3 separate regions of the Homo sapiens genome follow, and all the other regions are linked to region 2. The links are contacts of gene promoters, found by promoter capture Hi-C in blood cells and fetal thymus (Javierre and others, 2016). All regions are on one chromosome and are shown on one strand. The core of a region is centred on a gene start or on the middle of the fragment in contact, and the rest is flanking DNA. Distances in the headings are between cores, read along the strand shown.

Region 1 (2,784 bases), core at 271-2,770, 540 kb before region 2:
GCAACTCCTGGAAGCTGGAGGGGGTACTCACAGTGGCTAGAAAGCCACTGTCCTCTGGGGATGAGATGGGTTCTTGGCCAGTTGCCTGGCACAGCTCCCAGTATTGGGTTTTGGTGGGGGGGGAGGGGGGACAGCAGCCCAGCCAGCCGCCTCCAGCTCGCGCCAGCCAGTGCCCACAGCCAAGTCTCCAGCTCTTCCTGGGTTTCTGCAGCCAGCTTGTAGGCCCGCCCACCTGTGCCCTCCACCCCAGGGGTCAGGATGGTAAAGGCATAGGGTTCTGCAGCCTTAAGGTGTGGTTCCACCTGGCAGTTCTCTAACAGGATGAGGCTCAGGGGTGCATGGTCGGTCTAGTGTTCTAGGTAGAAGAGGAGGTTTCCTCGGAGGATGAACCATCGGCGCTGGTAGCTGAGGTTTCGGGTCCCCTTCTTTAGCAGAATGCCTTCCTGGTCTGGGGCCTGTGTTCTGTAACCATGGAAGAAACTGAGCACGGACTTTCTGTGCAGTTTTCATCGTGATCCAATATGGGAGGAAACCCCTAGGGAGAGAGAAGTGGCCCATCTAGTTGCCTGGGGGAAGAGTAGGGGAACTCTCATGCTGTCCTCGTCTGGCTTCAGCACGTGCTGCCTGCGCACAGTCTTGGCTTAGGGGGATGCAGGCTCCGAGTGTCAAGAGCTAGGGGTCCCAGCACAGGGGCTGATCCCCGCTACCTCCCCAATTCCCCCTTCTGCTTGGGCCACATTCCGCTACCTGGGCAGGAGTTGCTAGGCCCTGTTTGCTCAGGGGGGCTTCATGCTGCAGAGAGGCACTGTTGCCCTTTTCCAGGCCTACCTGAGAGCAGGGCACAAGGGGCTTCTGGCCTGAGTACTGGCGCCAATGCCACCTCTCCAGTGATGGCTCTCCCACCTCAGAAACCAGGAACTCGCCCAGGGTATGGGCGTGGGACAAATTATTTCCCCTGGGTCCTAAAGGGAGGTGTGTTCAGAAAGTGCCCGGAGAGCCGTCCAGGGGCCCCAGGCTGGCCATCGGGAGAGTCAGGCTTCCCCTCGGAGAGGCAAGGCTGCACCTCTCAGGCTAGGAGGGCTGACCACTGGACCATAGGAATGGGAAGGCAGGATTTCTAACGAGACGGTAGGGGCGCTGAGCCCTTAGCCCTGGGGGAAGGGTGACTTGAACCCAGGACAGGAAAACGGAGCAGCAACCCACTGACCCTGCTCGGACTTTGCCCCTCCATCCTGACCCTGGGCGGCCCTTTAAGCAGATGCGCTCCAGTTTTTCTCCAGAGCCTCTACTGCTTGAATGACGGACTCGAAGCTACTTCCGGCCATTTCTCACGCCCAGTCAGAGTCCAGGAATTCTTAGGTTCCCTCTTCTCACCATTGTCCTCCCACGTGACTGACGTCACTTCTGGCGGGAGAGAGGGTGGAGGCGTCTTCGCTCGCTTATCGCATACTTCCGCCCGCTCTTCCAGTTAGTTCCCTAACCCGAGTGAAGCCACTTCCGGGCTTCCCGGGCGCCTTCCGCAGTCCTCTTCCGGGTGATGGCGGCCGGGTGCCCCGGATGTAGCCCTGGCGCAAGCATCTCTTCTTTTTTCCACCTCGCCTTCCGCGGATTCCCAGGTGAGTGCGCGAGGGTGGGACCGCCCGAATCCCCGTGGCCCTCTAAGTTGTACACAGCCCGGGACAGTTGGGGCTCACCACACGGAATTGGGAGTTCGGAGCAGGGAGGAACGGGGTGGCGAGAGCGCCAGGTCCTGGGTCTGCCGGGGCCCGGCGAGCTCCGAGAGAGCCAGGGTAGAGAGCGGGGGTCAGCCCGTGGAGCCGGTGGCGCGCAGACTGCGGGGGCTGGAGTTGGGGGCGGTCACGTGGTGAAGCCTGTCTCCTTTCAGCCAGGGTCGGGGGATCCAGAGGGTCCGCTCCTCCGTCCCCGCCCCGTTTAACTCGCGGATGCTAGACCCAAGTCCTGGAGGCCTCCTGGCTGCCAGCTTCCTTTCGGCCCCTGCTTTTGTGCTCCCTCCGCTCCCAAACTGTACCTGTCACAGACCAGGAAAAATGTTTGCTGTGCTGCGTCTGTTGGCGAGTCCCCTCCTCACCCGGTTCCCTTCCTCTGCATCCTTTCCTCAGCTTGAGAAACACCTCTTTGCCCCGTCATGCCAAAGAGGAAAGTGACCTTCCAAGGCGTGGGAGATGAGGAGGATGAGGATGAAATCATTGTCCCCAAGAAGAAGGTGAGGGGGCCAGACTGCTTTGTGTGGGGGAAAGAGGAGCTAGAAGCCTGAAGAGGAAGAAAGCTGGCGGGAGAGGGGCGGGGCGGGCAGGCAGAGAAAAGCCTAGTTTTTTCAGGTTCTCTGAGGAATGGGTTGGGAGCGTCTTTAGTGTGGCTCCTGAAATATTTGGGGAAGTAGTCGAGATCCTGAAATATTTGGGGAATATTTGGGTCCAGATCCGGAAGTATTTGGGGAGGTAGCCAGTAACCTGCATTTCTCAACTTTCTGGCTCCTGCTCACAGCTGGTGGACCCTGTGGCTGGGTCAGGGGGTCCTGGGAGCCGCTTTAAAGGCAAACACTCTTTGGATAGCGATGAGGAGGAGGATGATGATGATGGGGGGTCCAGCAAATATGACATCTTGGCCTCAGAGGATGTAGAAGGTAAGCTGTACCCAAGAATACACTCTGCTGGAAAAACAAGTAGGGGCCTCTGGTGGTGTGGAGCGAGGGAGGCTCCGGTCTCTTTTTTCCATGCCTGGAAAAGGGCACCTGTGTCTTTGGTGCAGGTCAGGAGGCAGCCA
Region 2 (2,785 bases), core at 119-2,618:
TCAGGGGTGGGGTCCTCCTGGGTAGGGAGCTCTGGTTGAAGGGCTGGCTTGGGGGTAGGCTGGGAATCTGGCCGGGGGTCTGGTTGGGGAGCAGGCTCTGGGGCTGGTTCAGGTGGGGCTGCAGACTCCAGCCTGGACCCCTGGTCTGCAGTGGCCTCTTTGCTCACTTCTGGTTTGGACACTGTTTCTTGGCATGGGTCTTCGGGGCTGCAGTTGGCCTTTGATTCCCCTCCTGGGCTTAAGCTGAGGTCTGTGGCCTGGGCTGTTTCTGAGGCCCCAGCCGGGGTCTCTGTGGTTTCTGGAGCCAGCCCAGCCTTGGGCCCTGAGTCCACAGGGGCCGCAGTGGTGTTTGGACCTGGCTGCGGGGCCTCTGGCTGGTCTGGTACCCCTGCTAGGACCTGGGGAGGGCCAGTTTCAGCTTCAGAATGGCCAGGCCCTTCGCCTGGAACCTTGGGACTCTCCTCAACCCCCTTCATCTCAGAGATCTCAGAGCTGCTGGCTGCCATCTTGAGATGGGAGAGGGGAGAGAGCCCCTATGGGGAGGATGGAATAGCAGAGACAGCGGCAAACCCTGGAAGAGGAGGAGATAGGCTTGGGGTGAGGAGGGAAGAGGGCGCTCAGCACTGCAGGCCCAATTGGGCCACATTCCTGTCTCAGGGCCAGCCTTGCACTGCCTCTAGGGAGAGGAAGAAAAGTTGGGGTTTCCTTTGCCTTAGGGTGGGACATCCCTGCGGGAGGAGTGCTCTACTCAAAGTCTTCTGCTTGGAGAGCCCTGGGGAAGATTAACCCTTTTGTAAACAGGACCTTCTCCAGGGTCTCTCCCTGGGTCCATCCAACAAGATCCAGACTCTCAGATCCCAGCACCCCAAAATCAACGAGCTGTGCAAATAGCACTCCGACAGGCCGACTGGGCAGAGGACCCGACATTCGCATTCCACTCCCTCTGCATCCTCCCCTCCTCCCTGGGCTCCCAGGCGGTGCGGGTTTTCTTGCTGCGCGTTTAGGGCGAGGACGCTCCCGCCCCTTTCTGGGGGACCTGGTTATCTCCTTCGATCCCCTGTCAGCCCCTCTCCCGGGGCTTCCCTCGCCTTCGGTGGGCTGGCGCCTCCTCCCGATGGTTCAGCCCGCCCAGCACCACCACCAGCCCTCCAGACACCCGCATTCCCGTGCAGTCCGCCCGGCGTCAGCCGTCGGTCGGTCCACTCCTACCCGCAGCCTCAGTCTGCCCGGGTCTCACCTCGACGCCGGCCTCCGGACAGCTCCCGCTGCCGCTGCTGGCTTTTGCAGCAGCCGCAGCCCGGGAGGGAGCAAGTCAGCTAGGGAGGGAGGGAGGCGGCGGGTCTCCCTCTTCTCCTCTCCCGTGTGCTCATCCCCTCCTCTCCGGTCCCCTCCCCTACGCTCCGCCGCCGTCGCCGCCCCCGCCCCTCGCGAGCCTCCGGCCCCTCCCGCCAGCCCAAGGGAGCCACGCGTTACCCAGGCAACCGGCCCGGGGACCACTCGCGCCCCCTCCCTGCCCCTTCTCACGCGCGCCTCCAGGAGAGACGCCTCCTTCTTAAGTCCCCGGCCCCTCCCGCCAACGGTCACCGGGATTCCTGGAAGAGACGGGGATTTGGGGGAAACGGAGAGGGTTCTGCGAGGAGACGGGACCAGTGAGACAGGCAGGACCGGGTGGAGGCGTCTCTACGAGCAGGAGGGCAAGGAAGATGGGGCAAGACGCGGGGAGGCTGCAGAGGAGGAGCAGGGTGGGGTTTGGAGAGAATGGAGCCTGCAGAAAGGAGCGGCAGAAACTGGCGCTGGAAGGCTCAAAAAAGGGGCCCTGGAAAGGACGGAGCGGGGACAGGAAAGGGAATTCCAAGGGGCAGGAGGAGCTGGGCAGAGGAGCCCGTGTAAACACAGAGTGGCCCATGCCCAGGATGAGGGACAGGTGCAGCTTTCATTCTCTACCTCGCTGCTCCCAGTCCTAGGGCTCGGACTCCCCAGCCTTTCCGCAGCCGCATCCACCCACCATGGCCTCAGGGCCGTGACGCGCGTGGGGAGGGATGCGGCTGGGGGCTGAGCAGCGGCCATGAGTGTGGACGGGGGAGGGCGGCATTCCCGTCTGGCAGCTCTGTTTGGGTTTCTGACGGGGCCTCTTCAAACCTCCAGGGGCTATTCTGGGCCTGTCCGAGTTGGGAATTCCCCAGAGACCTGGAACTTGCTCTCCACAGCCACAGCCTTGGCCCCGCCCTGTATCTGTGCTGCCGCCAGTAAGGCTGCCCCTGGGGAGGGCGGAGCCAGAACCTCACAGCCTCACAGGGCAGAGCAAGGCTGGATTGACGGACACCAGGCCGAGAAGAAACCCTTGGGGTTGGCGGCAGTTCTTAGTGAGGGCAATTCATTCAATCCAGAGCCAGAAACAGGATTTTATTTAAAATTTATTGTAATGGGGTCCGCGCAAAAGGAAGGGGTGGAGGGTGGGGTACATGCAGGGGACACAGGAACACGATGACATGGCCAGGGCCACAACTTCTTCTGTCGTGGGGAAGAGGGATGAAAAGACAAGACCAGGGCTGGAGCTGGGGTGGAAGAGGGGAGGGGGACACTGGCTGCATTCCCCCGCCCCCAGGAAGCACCTCTAGGCCCTGGACCCCTCGCTCACCCTGGCCCCTAAGACTCCATCTCTTCTCTGCCTCTGGCCCTCCTGGCTCTTCCTCCTGCTCCCCTTGACTTTTTCCCCTGACAGATTCTCAAGTAGGACGATGTTCAGGGCCTGACCCCAACCCCCCATACCACCTTATGAAGGTAC
Region 3 (2,745 bases), core at 211-2,710, 860 kb after region 2:
ACCAGAAATGTATACATTAATACATTCTATGCTTGTTAACAATCCAGCTCCTGTGGCTGGGATGCAGGAGTCCCCTCTCCCACGCTCTTCCCTTGAGCCTCAGGAGACAACTGACTGCAGGAATATAAACCCCAGGAATTCTCTTAAGAGAAGCCAGCGGCTGCGTGCCTCTCCCTGGAGGCCCTCCCTTACCTTCCTCATCCCCTGGAGGGTAGAGTTTCAGGAGGGATAGATCATCTGGGATAAGGCGAAGGCTGCTTTTAACCTGCAAAGACAAAGAAGGGAGAGGGGTCAGGCCCAAGTCCTTCCCCTACCGAAAGAAAAAATTGGGGGTAATTCTTCCCTGACACCCAGCTCCCAAATCCTCCCTAAGATCGTGGACACCTTGGCCCTCTCCTGGCAACCTAGAAGTCCAGCTTCCCCAGGATTCAGAATGGAAGTACCCTTCACCCTTTCCTCCATCTGCCTAAGACACTCTGAAATGTATGCTTCCTTGCCCTTTTTAACTAGGTTACTAGCCGCCCCTCTACCCCTGACTCTTAGGGACTCTCAGCCCATTGCTCACACGACCATCGGGGGACCCCAGCCTCTGGAGCCGCCCAGTCCTCTCTGAACCCGCATGGACCCCAACCCCCAATACTGCAGCTCCCTGGCTTCATTTGCCATGGACCCCAACCTCAAAATCCAACGGCCCCAGGTCCTCCCAGTCCCTCTCCAAAATCTCAGGAATCCCAGCTCTTCAGCCTCCCTGTGCCCCCAAGACTCTAGCTCCTAGGAATCCTAAACTTCCAACGCATCCCACCCTCCTTCACCACCCCAGTCTGCAGAAAGTCCCGGAGCCCTGCCTCTCCCTGCCTCCAACACCCTAACGCCCGAGGACCAGCCCCAGAACGCCAGCCTCAACACCCCTATAGCCCTACCCTCCCCGAACGCCGGCCCCTCCCTGGAGGCCAAGCCCTTGGCCCTTCCGCCGGTCCCCTCCCCGGGACCGGGCGCACCTTCCCCGAGTACACCGGAACCAGCGGCGCCTCCCCCGGATCCAGCACCAGCCGCCGCCGCCGCCTGACCGGCTCCCGCGGGGGTCCTGCGGGCCGCCTGTCCTCCCCTTCGCTGTCACTGTTGCTGTTATCCCGGGACGCGACCGGCCCCGGGGGCTCCGGGGGCTCCACCTCAACCTCGTCCGCGGCACCGCGAGCGGTGGCGACCTCCAGAATTTCCTCATCGCTGTCGGTGACCAAGTCCACAGACACTACGTCCAGCGTGCCCCGGGATGGAGACCGCTGGGCCCGAGGACGCCGGCCCCGACCGCCCCAGCCGCCCCGACCCCCTCGGCCGGCACCGCTACCTCCGGACCAGCGGCCCCGCTTCCCCACAGGCTCCGCCATGGCACACTTTCCTCCACAACACACGCCCGCCTCCTCTCGCCTCGCCCCGCCCCCTTCAGCGACTTTCGCCTTGCATTGGACAAACAGCCTGCTCGTCAGCAACTCTTCGCGCCCCACGCGCGGGATCCGCCTTCCCGCCTTTTCATTGGTCTCTGTACCCGCTCATCATGCGCCCACCTCTGAAACCAAGGCGCCAAAGATTCCAATCACCTCGGCACAATCACCGTAGCTTTCGATTCAGTCGGCCTCACCCATTGGCTGGGCCACCTCTCCACAGACGAGCCTCTCCCGGACCCGCCCAACCAAGACAACCGTCTTCCGGCTTGGTTAGTCGCAGGGCATCCTGGGAAATGTAGTCCTCGAGCGGTAAGGTTTCCGGGAGAAGGAAGGCGGGCCTGGAATTCCCTGTGGAAACCGCGGATTTAACCAGGCGCGGTGCCTCACGCCCGTAATCCTGGCACTTTGAAAGGCTGAGGCGGGCAGATTGGTTGAGCTCAGGAGTTTGAGACCAGCCTGGCCAATGTGGCGAAACCGCGTCTCTACTAAGAATGCAAAAATTACCCGGGCGTGGTGGCACCCCTCTGTGGTCCCAACTACTCAGGAGGCTGAGGTGGGAGTTTCGCTGGAGCCCGGGAGGCGGAGATCGCACCACTGCACCCCAGCCTGGGTGACAGGGCGAGACCCTGTCTCAAAAATGCTTTAAAGAAATAATAAGGCTGGCCGCGCGCGGTGGCTCACGCCTGTAATCCCAGCACTTTGGGAGGCCGAGGCAGGCGAATCACGAGGTCAGAAGTTCAAGACCAGCCTGGCCAACACGGTGAAACCCCGTCTCTACTAAAAATACAAAAATTAGGCGGGCGTGGTGGCGTGCGCCTGTAATCCCAGCTACTCAGGAGGCTGAGGCAGGAGAATTGCTTGAGCCCGGGAGGCAGAGGTTACAGTGAGCCAGATCCTGCCGCTGCACTCCAGCCTGGCCGACAGAGCGAGACTCTCTCTCAAAAAAAGAAAGAAAGATAGAAATAATAAGGCTGGGCGTGGTGGCTCACGCCTATAATCCAGCACTTTGGGAGGCCGAGGTGGGCAGATCACCTGAGGTCAGGAGTTCGAGACCAGCCTGACCAACATGGTAAAACCCTGTCTCTACTAAAATACAAAAATTAGACAGGCGTAGTGGCAGGCGCCTATAATCTCAGCTACTCGGGAGGCTGAGGCAGGAGAATCGCTGGAACCCAGGAGGCAGAGGTTGCACTGAGCCAAGATTGTACCACTGCACTCCAGCCTGGGCAACAGAGTGAGACTCCATCTCAAAAAAAAATCTTATGTATTTATTTATTTTTAAATTTTATTTTATTCATTTATT

The links. The method cuts DNA at HindIII sites, captures the fragments that hold promoters and counts their contacts. A CHiCAGO score of 5 or more calls a contact.
Region 1: a contact is called between the fragment with the promoter of CD2BP2 here and the fragment with the promoter of PRRT2 in region 2, in 1 of 17 cell types (neutrophils). The highest score is 6.7, in neutrophils.
Region 3: a contact is called between the fragment with the promoter of NFATC2IP here and the fragment with the promoter of PRRT2 in region 2, in 2 of 17 cell types (total B cells and fetal thymus). The highest score is 6.3, in total B cells.

The regions. Positions count from the first base shown.
Region 1 is chr16:30,354,044-30,356,827 of GRCh38, reverse strand. CD2BP2 (CD2 cytoplasmic tail binding protein 2) reads left to right here and starts at 1,520. Exons shown (of 7, transcript NM_006110.3): 1 at 1,520-1,616; 2 at 2,121-2,224; 3 at 2,506-2,644; 4 at 2,770-2,784. The coding sequence starts at 2,147. CD2BP2-DT (CD2BP2 divergent transcript) reads right to left here and starts at 1,394. Exons shown (of 2, transcript NR_184233.1): 1 at 1,208-1,394; 2 at 1-535. RefSeq lists enhancers at 1,349-1,408, 1,489-1,548, 603-1,554, 1,286-1,580, 1,271-2,470 and 1 more. The HindIII fragment of the contact is 7,065 bases long and covers 1-2,784 here.
Region 2 is chr16:29,810,776-29,813,560 of GRCh38, reverse strand. It overlaps PRRT2 (proline rich transmembrane protein 2), which reads right to left and starts at 1,368. Exons shown (of 4, transcript NM_145239.3): 1 at 1,238-1,368; 2 at 1-571. The coding sequence starts at 506. MAZ (MYC associated zinc finger protein) reads right to left here. Exons shown (of 5, transcript NM_002383.4): 5 at 2,397-2,785. All of the region lies in intron 2 of MVP-DT (MVP divergent transcript), which reads left to right. RefSeq lists silencers at 1,366-1,515, 1,916-1,995. The HindIII fragment of the contact is 10,276 bases long and covers 1-2,785 here.
Region 3 is chr16:28,949,652-28,952,396 of GRCh38, reverse strand. NFATC2IP (nuclear factor of activated T cells 2 interacting protein) reads right to left here and starts at 1,460. Exons shown (of 8, transcript NM_032815.4): 1 at 999-1,460; 2 at 193-265. The coding sequence starts at 1,385. RefSeq lists silencers at 1,005-1,124, 1,265-1,364 and enhancers at 1,084-1,584, 1,604-2,138. The HindIII fragment of the contact is 4,735 bases long and covers 1-2,745 here.